2 separate regions of the Homo sapiens genome follow, and region 2 is linked to region 1. Evidence: promoter capture Hi-C in 16 types of primary human blood cells and fetal thymus (Javierre and others, 2016). All regions are on one chromosome and are shown on one strand. Each heading gives the region's core, a stretch centred on a gene start or on the middle of the fragment in contact. The rest is flanking DNA. Distances are from core to core; before and after follow the strand shown.

The links. Contacts are between HindIII fragments. The CHiCAGO score rates a contact against its expected background, and 5 or more counts as called.
Region 2: a fragment that was not itself captured here is called in contact with the fragment with the promoter of OR10G2 in region 1 in 1 of 17 cell types (activated CD4 T cells); the score reaches 6.0 in activated CD4 T cells.

What each region holds. Positions count from the first base shown.
Region 1 is chr14:21,632,234-21,636,887 of GRCh38, forward strand. It overlaps OR10G2 (olfactory receptor family 10 subfamily G member 2), which reads right to left and starts at 2,707. Exons shown (of 1, transcript NM_001005466.2): 1 at 1,603-2,707. The coding sequence starts at 2,609. The coding sequence ends at 1,677. It also overlaps TRA. The HindIII fragment of the contact is 5,968 bases long and covers 1-3,169 here.
Region 2 is chr14:22,620,327-22,625,216 of GRCh38, forward strand. No RefSeq gene overlaps it. Among named protein-coding and RNA genes, the nearest start is that of OR6J1, 22 kb to the right of the region's middle. The HindIII fragment of the contact is 2,566 bases long and covers 1,908-4,473 here.

The sequences.
Region 1 (4,654 bases), core at 1,457-3,956:
CCCCATCTCTACTAAAAATACAAAAAATTAGCCGGGCGTGGTGGCGGGTGCCTGTAGTCCCAGCTACTCGGGAGGCTGAGGCAGGAGAATGGCGTGAACCCGGGAGGCGGAGCTTGCAGTGAGCCGAGATCGCGCCACGGCACTCCAGCCTGGGCGGCAGGGCGACACTCCATCTCAAAAAAAAAAAAAAAAAAAAAATTCAGCAGCAAATATTGATTTCTGTGTCTGCTCGTAGTTATTAGGCAATAGAGGCAGACAAACACAAATGAATGCTTTATGTCCTTTGAGGGCTCACAATCCATTTGAAGTGGAAAGAGAGATAAATTCCTTTTTTTTTTAGACTTTTTTTTTTTTTTTTTTTTAGATGAAGTCTGGTACTGTCACCTAGGCTGGAGTGCAGTGGTGCAATCTCCGCTCACTGCAACCTCTACCTCCTGGGTTCAAGCAATTATCCTGCCTCAGCCTCCCAAGTAGTTGGGATTACAGGTGCATGCCACTATGCCTGGCTAACTTTTTATATTTTTAGTAGAGATGGGGGTTTCACTATGTTGGCCAGGCTGGTCTTGAACTCCTGACTTCGTGATCTGCCCACCTCGGCCTCTCAAAGTGCTGGGATTACAGGCGTGAGCCACTGCGCCCGGTAGGAGATAAATTCTTGACTGTAATACGTGACAGACTGGGGCAAGGTCTATACTAAAGAAGCCATGGCAATACCAGGGAAGAGGAGTTAAGTCCTGCCTGGGAAAAACAGATGAGGAAGTATTTAATATGGATCTGAAGGAAGCATAAATTGTCACTTGGTCAATATGGAGAGGGAGGACTTATATTCCAGGCAGAGAAGAGAGCTTGAGCAAAAGAGTACAGGCAAGTATAGAGCATGCTCACGGAACGGCAATAAATCAGTGAGGGTGGGAGAGGGAAGCAGAGGAAATGGCTTAAGAGAACATGTATGTGAAGCCAAGATTGCATTGGATTTTGAATTCCAGATTAAGGAGCCTGGCCTTATTCATTCTACCTTCGCCGAAGAGTCCTACAGATTCTGTGTTTCAGAGGGTAATTTTGATTGTGGTCTAGATGAGGAAGAACTAGTCAAGAATTAAGAGAGACAGTCTACACTGAATCAGTTTGAGCTGGTTTCATAGTTTTGAGGAGACAGAATCTGATGTGTTAGCACATCACGAGGGCGAGGGACAGGAAGAAAACACAAATAATCCAGAATTTTCAAGTTCAAGTGCTTGGAAATATTCATGCCATGCACAAGCAAAGAAATGGAATTTAGAGGGGTCTAGGATTAGGAGCAAAGACAATGAAACAAGGGGTTATGGAGCCCCCTTTTTACTCTTTTCAAATTTTCTGGCATGATATACTTTCTAAGACATTGACACATTCTCATCTTATTCAACCTTTGGTAAGGCATTTTCTCATCTCACAAGATAGAGGTGATAGAAATAATGTATCCATTTATTTCTAAAAGATTATGTAAAACAACCTGAACCAGTTTAATTAGGGGAAAAGATTTTGGGTCGAAATAATTCAGAATTTTCTGCCAAAGAAAATGAAAATAAATTCACTTTAAATCCTTAGCAGTTTATTGGGCATTTGTCACATGCAGCAGTAGCTGAAGAGAGTGGCAGTGATAATGATGCAGATGTAGTTACTTATTTTCATTCAGTCCTTCAACCTGCTGTTATCCTCTTCAGGGCAGACTTCACTTCCTGGTTCCTCAGTGTATAGATGAGGGGGTTCAGTAATGGAGTGACAACAGTGTAAAACACAGCCGCTGCCCCATCCAGGGGGTCTTTGGAGCCAGCCCTAAGGTAGATGAAAATACAGGGGACATAGTAGACTGTGACCACGATTAGGTGGGAGCCACAGGTGGAGAAGGCCCGGCGCCTCCCATCAGTGGTGCGTATCTTCAGGATGGCATTTACTATGTTGGCATACGAGAGCAGAATTAACATGAAGCAACTGGCGGCCACTACCCCGACGTCCACAAAGGTCACAAGCTCATTGACAGTTGTGTCAGCACAGGCCAGTCTCAATACTGCGGGGATGTCACAGATAAAGTAATCCACCTGATTGGGCCCACAGTAGGGCAGGCGGAAGGTCAAGGTGGCCTGGATAGACCCATGCATGGAGCCGGCGACCCAAGCTCCAGCCACAAGGACTGTGCATAACCTCCCATTCATGAGCACTGGGTAGCGCAGGGGCTGACATATTGCCAGGTACCTGTCATAGGCCATCAAGGTGTAGAGGAAGCACTGGGTGCTGCCCAGGAAGTGAAAGAAATACAGTTGAGCCACACAGCCACCAAACGGGATAGCCTTGATGGAAGGAGTAAAATCCAAAATAAGCAGAGGAACGGTGACTGAGGAGAGCCACATGTCCAGGAATGAGAGCACTCCCAGAAGAATGTACATGGGGCGAGCACAGAGCTTCGGGTCAGCCCACATGGTGAGCAGAATGAGCAGGTTCCCCAGCTGAGTGAGGATGTAAATGATGAAGAAGACCAGGAAGAGGAGGCTTCTTAGATTTGGGGGGTGAGACAAACCCAGAAGAATGAAATCTGTCACCACGGCATCCAGCGATGTGTTTTTGGTCTTTCCCATGTCTTTTTGTAGTCTGCTAAGATGAATGGTGACGTTTGACAAGAGAAACACAGCACAATGATGTTGTAAGTGAATGCTTTTGTCGGATGATTGATGCCTAGGAATTATGAGATAAACAAGATAGAGTCAAATTGTTTTTTAAAAGAGGAGGTGGTGTCACCATTAGTTATTTAGGTTTACTTAAAAGGAGAAGTCCTCCAGAGGCTGGTTAGTTTCCTAGATGGGAGGAAACTCTTGTCCATTGAGAGATACTGAAAGCCAGGATTTGCCAGATGAAGGAAGAGGGACACATGAGAGTGATAGAGAAGTACCGAAAATTCCAACCAAAAAGTGAGTTCGCCAAGGAGGGGCTAAAGTTGATGCAGAGCAGTGTGGAACAAACACCCTATAATGACCACATCTACTTTTTCTTCACCTACTATCATTGTCCCCTTTTTCCTCAGCTAAAATCTCATCTCCTTAACATATCATGCAAAAATATTCCTCATCTGGCCCTTATTTATATCGCTATTGTACCACTTGTAATTCCTTCTTATTGTTGGGAGGCATGACACTCTTCAAGCTTCTCACAGTAGTGTGCTCTAACTTGGGACTTACGCACACACTATCTTTTCTGCTCCCTTCACATAGGTAGTGCCCACTTTTCCTTCAGGATTCAGTTTGAGTGTCTTCACCTTCAAGAAGGCTTTCCGGATCCCTGAGGACAATGCTTATACTTTTCTGAGCACGTACATTATGTTGCATTGTCTAATTTCTGTTTTTCTCTCTTAATAATCATCCCGTCTAGCATGCTAAAAGTGATAAATACCGTAATTATTTTCTGAATGACTGAGATAGATAGAATGGATGTTGCCAAATCCCCCTGACTGAATACATTGTTTCTCTTGATCTTTTTTGTCTGACCCCTGTGCTCACATGGCTGGGACTTTTAGGTCAAGGGACCACCTCATTCACCATGTAATATGGGTATAATTTCATTATAAAAAACTCCAAGAAACATTTATGCCTGTTTTTGCTCCAGGATATCATTTAGATTTATTTGTTGATTTATATGGTTCATTGGTTTGGGATTGGGTTTTTTTTTTGGTATGAGGTCACAGAGGAATTTTTATTGTTTGTTATAAAATCATTGATTAATGCAGGACTTGATCTTTAGTGTGCTTGTGTGTAATATCTATGTATTGCAGTCTATCAAACAGCAACTCTCTCTAAAGACATTTACAGATTTTCAAGTATCTGAACAAGATGATAAAATAGAGGGATGGAATGTGTTTGTTTCACTCTTTTTGTTAAATAGGTTGCTTGATAAAGACTTTTCGCTCTATATATGGTTTGAGATGCATTTATCTTTCATTTAACTACAAAATATCTTTGTAATGCAAATGACTACTTTCATAAAGCAATTAAAATGACAATAGATTATTATAAATAACATGTGAATATTAATAAGTTTAATCTCTATCGGAAATTCTCCAAAGAGATTTTATCTTAAGTATTCTGTGAAATAACTTAATTCATATGTTAACATTCAAGAGTTATTAGTAGTAATAATAATAATACTGAATATATCTGGCTCTTCGAAGTCTGGAAAATGTTAAACTTGTCCTTTGCCCACCAAGAACGAAGAAATATCAGATTTTTATTGCCTGAGTTTCAGGAGGACACTTTGATTTATTTGAAAATGGATGGGAAAACTAAATCTTATTTTTGTGGTTAGAATATAGAGAAAAGAGGCTGGGCGTGGTGGCTCACGTCTGTAATCCCAGCACTTTGGGAGGCCGAGGCAGGCAGATCATGAGGTCAAGAGATGGAGACCACCCTGACCAACATGGTGAAACCCTGTCTCTACTAAAAATACAAAAAAATTAGCTGGGTGTGGTGTCGGGCGCCTGTAGTCCCAGCTACTCGGGAGGCTGAGGCAGGAGAATCTCTTGAACCCGGGAGGCGGAAGTTGCAGTGAGTGGAGATCGCACCACTGCACTCCAGCCTGGTGACAGAGAGAGACTCTGTCTCAAAAAGAAAAAAAAAAAATGAATATAGAGCAA
Region 2 (4,890 bases), core at 1,941-4,440, 990 kb after region 1:
TTTTTTTTTATTATTCTTTTTTCTCTAAACTTCTCTTCTTGCATCATTTCATTCGTTTCATCTTCCATCACTGATACCCTTTCTTCCAGTTGATCGAATCGGCTACTGAGGCTTGTGCATTCGTCACGTAGTTCTCGTGCTGTGGTTTTCAGCTCCATCAGGTCCTTTAAGGAATTCTCTGCATTGGTCATTCTAGTTAGCAATTCGTCTAATTTTTTTTCATGGTTTTTAACTTCTTTGTGATGGATTTGAACTTCCTCCTTTAGCTTGGAGTAGTTTGATCATCTGAAGCCTTCTTCTCTCAAATTGTCAAAGTCATTCTCCATCCAGCTTTGTTCCGTTGCTGGTGAGGAGCTCCATTCCTTTGGAGGAGGAGAGGCACTCTGATTTTTAAAGTTTCCAGTTTTTCTCCCATCTTTGTGGTTTTATCTACCTTTGGTCTTTGATGATGGTGATGTACAGATGGGGTTTTGGTGTGGATGTCCTTTCTGTTTGTTAGTTTTCCTTCTAACAGTCAGGACCCTCAGCTGCATGTCTGTTGGAGTATGCTGGAGGTCCACTCCAGACCCTGTTTGCCTGGGTATCAGCAGAGGAGGCTGCAGAACATATTGGTGAACAGCAAATGTTGCTGCCTGATCGTTCCTCTGGAAGTTTTGTCTCAGAGGATTAACCGGCCGTGTGAGGTGTCAGTCTGCCCCTACTGGGGGGTGCCTCCCAGTTAGGCTACTCAGGGGTCAGGGACCCACTTGAAGAGGCAGTCTGTCTGTTCTCAGATCTCTAGCTGCGTGCTGGGAGAACCACTACTCTCTTCAAAGCTGTCAGACAGGGACATTTAAGTCTGCAGAGATTTCTGCTGCCTTTTGTTTGGCTATGCCTTGCCCTCAGAGGTGGAGTCTACAGAGGCAGGCAGGCCTCCTTGAGCTGCGGTGGGCTCCACCCAGATCGAGCTTCCCGGCCACTTTGTTTACCTACTCAAGCCTTGGCAATGGCGGGCGCCCCTTCCCCAGCCTCACTGCCACCTTGCAGTTTGATCTCAGACTGCTGTGCTAGCAATGAGTGAGGCTCCGTGGGCATAGGACCCTCCAAGCCAGGCACGGGATATAATCTCCTGGGGTGCAGTTTGCTAAGACCATTGGAAAAGCACAGTTTTAGGGTGGGAGTGACCCAATTTTCCAGGTGCCGTCTGTCACCTCTTTCTTTGACTAGGAAAGGGAATTCCCTGACCCCTTGCACTTCCCAAGTGAAGCGATGGCTTGCCCTGCTTCGGCTCACGCTCGGTACGCTGCACCCACTCTCCTGCACCCACTATCCAACACTCCCCAGTGAGATGAACCTGGTACCTCAGTTGGAAATGCGGAAATCACCCGTCTTCTGCGTCTCTCACGCTGGGAGCTGTAGACTGGAGCTGTTCATATTCGGCCATCTTGGCTCCACCCCAAGTGTTTTTCATAGTATAAGTTCAGCATTGTTATGCTAGACAGATCTTTGTCATCATCCTGCTAAATATCACTCTTCACTAGGGTTAAGGAGGAAAGACCTTCCTCATTCCTGGAGAGAATACTAAGGAGGATTAACAGATGTCAGCAGGTGCACAGAGTCTGTTCCCCAACCCACAAGGACCCCATTATCTTGGTTGGTGACTCTGCTAAAGGCCTAGGAGATCTGTAGACTTCACCTTACTGATGGCTGATGCTCCTTCTTCCTGGAATATTCTGAGGCCTAATGGAGAGTTTGTGATAATTCAGCAACCACATATTTTAGTTGGTATATATGTGTCTTAGTCTGTTTCTTCTGCTATAAAGGAATACCTGAGGCCAGGTAATTTATAAAGAAAAGAAAACCTGTCAGTTCTGCAGGCTGTACAAGAAGCATGGCATCAGCATCTGCTTCTGGTGAGGGCCTCAGGAAGCTTCCACTCATGCTGGAAGGGTAAGGGGAGCTGGAGTGTGCAGAGATCACATGACAAGGCAGCGCAGGCCAGAGAGAAACAAGTGAGGTGCCAGGCTTGTTTTAACAATCTCTCCCAGGCACTGCTAGAACAAGAACTCACTCATAACCACACAGACAGCACCAAGCCATTCATGAGGAATCTGCCCCATGACCCAGACACCTCCCATTAGGCCCCATCTCAACATTGGGGATCAAATTTCAACATGAGATTTGAAGAGTCAGATATCCAAACTATAACAATATGAGAACAAATCACACACAACCAGAAGAATCCTGAGACATGCTAGTGGCTGAAAAGGATCCTGAAGGATATGGCGTTAGAGGTGATATTTTCATCTTCTCAGTTTGACCAGCTGACACCATGTGTTGTGTCTGGGAAAAGAATTTTTGAGAGGGCTCACAACTTATGATAGATTTATGGGCCTCTGATAAATTATGAGGTAACTAACACAAAAACTGGGCATCATGTACTTTCTAAAATGTTCAAGGAAAGTGTCCAAATGTAACTGCAAAACCATATATTATAGCAGTGGCTTCCTACATAGATCCACAGACTGGAGCTGGTCCATGATAAAGTATTTCTGGTTCATAACAAAATAGTGCCTTTTTTTTTTTAGTATTTTTAAATTCTGAAATTATATCCTTTCTAACCCTTTCAGGATTAAACTATTGTTATTTTATAAAAAGATGCTGATATTCTACGATTGTTTGGGGGTGAGAGGGAATGTCATTTTTTGTTTCCAAACATATCAATTTTAGAATTTTTTCCTGTATTTGTAATTAATATTATTAAAATCCTAAAGTCTGGGGAGTGCTGGCTATATTACAGAAGACCAGAGTGGGAGAGGAACTTGAATTTTATGACAAGAAGATAGATAAGTCAATCATGTGGATCCCATGACTGGAGGGGACCGTGGAAAGATAACGCTGTTCAGAGGAAGTGAATCTAATTGAAGGGACTCAACAATAGCATGTATGCCAAAAAGGAAACCACAGAACTGAAGGTGGAAATGTTTGGATGGGGATAAAAGGAGAAACAAACAGAAATAGATACTAAGATAATTGGAGGACACAGATGCTGCTTTCTTAGTTCAGACTGCCAAACATCAAAAGCAAGTTACAGTAGTGCCAGAGGTCTCCAAGAATCAGGACACTAACATGAGTCTCTTTCTGCCAGAAGCAGAGCACCTAGTAAATTCTTGCTCTACTCACAATTGCGTTTACTAGAATATTGAAAAAAGATTGTCAGATGTAATTTTTATAGATTTCAGGAAGTCAGATTTCAGAATGTTCCAAGGAAAATTATCTATAGTGCTTAAAAGGGACAGGGCATTCTCAAACATGAAGTTTCAATTGTATCTCAAAGGGTCCTGCTGAGGAAGAATGAAGCGGCTTCAGCAATCAGAAAGCGGCTGCACAGGTTGTTTTCTGATATGATCAAAGTGTGGGCAGAGATGAATGTCAAGTCTTTCACATGAGAAAAATGAACCTCGGCCGAGTGTGGTGGCTCACGCCTGTAATCCCAGCACTTTAGGGGACTGAGGCAGGAGGATCGCTTGAGCCCAGGAGTTCAAGACCAGCCTGGGCAATATGGCAAGACTCCATAGCTAAAAGTAAAAATAAAAATAAAAAATTTAATTAGCTGGGCATGGTGGCATGTGACTGTAGTCCTAGCTACTCGGGAGGCTGAGGCAGAAGGATTGCTTGAGCCCAGAAGTTCAAGGCTGCAGTGAGCTATGAAGCTATGGAGTGCCACTGCACCACAGCCTGGGCAACACAGTCAGACCATGTCTCCAAAAAAAAAAAAAAAAAAGATAGAAAAAAATGAACCAAACTAGTAAAGCAATGGCAGTTGATGTGAAAAGATTAAACCGATGTGAAGGTTTTAGTGGGCTAGAAGCTCTGTTTATGGCAGTAAAGGAATGAAGCTGCCCCAAAAGCTAATGGAAAGCTAGGTCTCATTCCCTGCATTGATTGGGGGACTCAATGGTTTCACTGTAACCTGATTTGAGTGTTGGGTTCAATTCTGAGAACATTTTTCCTTTTTTTAAATGTAAACAAAAATTTTTAATTGTACAAAAATAAGACAAAATTAAAAACACTTTTTAAAAAATCTATAATTATACTACCCACAAATAACCATGTTAAATACATTGGAATATATTCTTTCAGATGATATATATGTTATTATATACATAAATGTATATTTACTAGAATGAGAGCATACTAACAAAGTGCTTTATAAAAATTTTTAACCTTATTGTTATAAATCTCTTTCTATACCAATAAATATAGAATCCATAGAAATATATCATCATTTTTAACTGTTGCATCTTCTTCCACTGTCTGGATTTACTATAGTTCATTTACCTGCTTCTCTGTTCTTGGACTTTAAATTGCTTCCAAATATTTGTATGTTATAAACAATGTGCGCTAAGTCCCTTGTACGTACATATTTGCATATTTGACCAATTATTTCCTTCCTTGAGGTAAGATTGCAGGATTGAAGGGTTTGCAAAATGAAGCTTTTTTTTTTTATTTTGAGACAGAGCCTCACTCTGTCACCCAGGCTGGAGTGCAGTGGCGCGCTCTCGGCTCAGTGCAATCTCCACCTCCTAGGTTCACGCAATTATCTTGCCTCAGCCTCTTGAGTAGCTGGGATTACAGGCACACATGACCCTGCATGGCTAATCTTTTTGTATTTTTAGTAGAGACAGGGTTTTGCCATGTTGGCGCTGGTCTCGAACTCCTGACCTCAGGCAATCCACCCTCCTCGGCCTCCCAAAGTGCTGGGATTACAGGCATGAGCCACCACGCCCGGCAAAATAAAGCTTTTTGATAAGCAATGAGAATAGTTTATAACAAGTGATCAGAAAAAGAAAAGCAACCCAGAGAAAAATAAATGTTTTATTTTTGTGTACATGGCAAGAAATATGAATA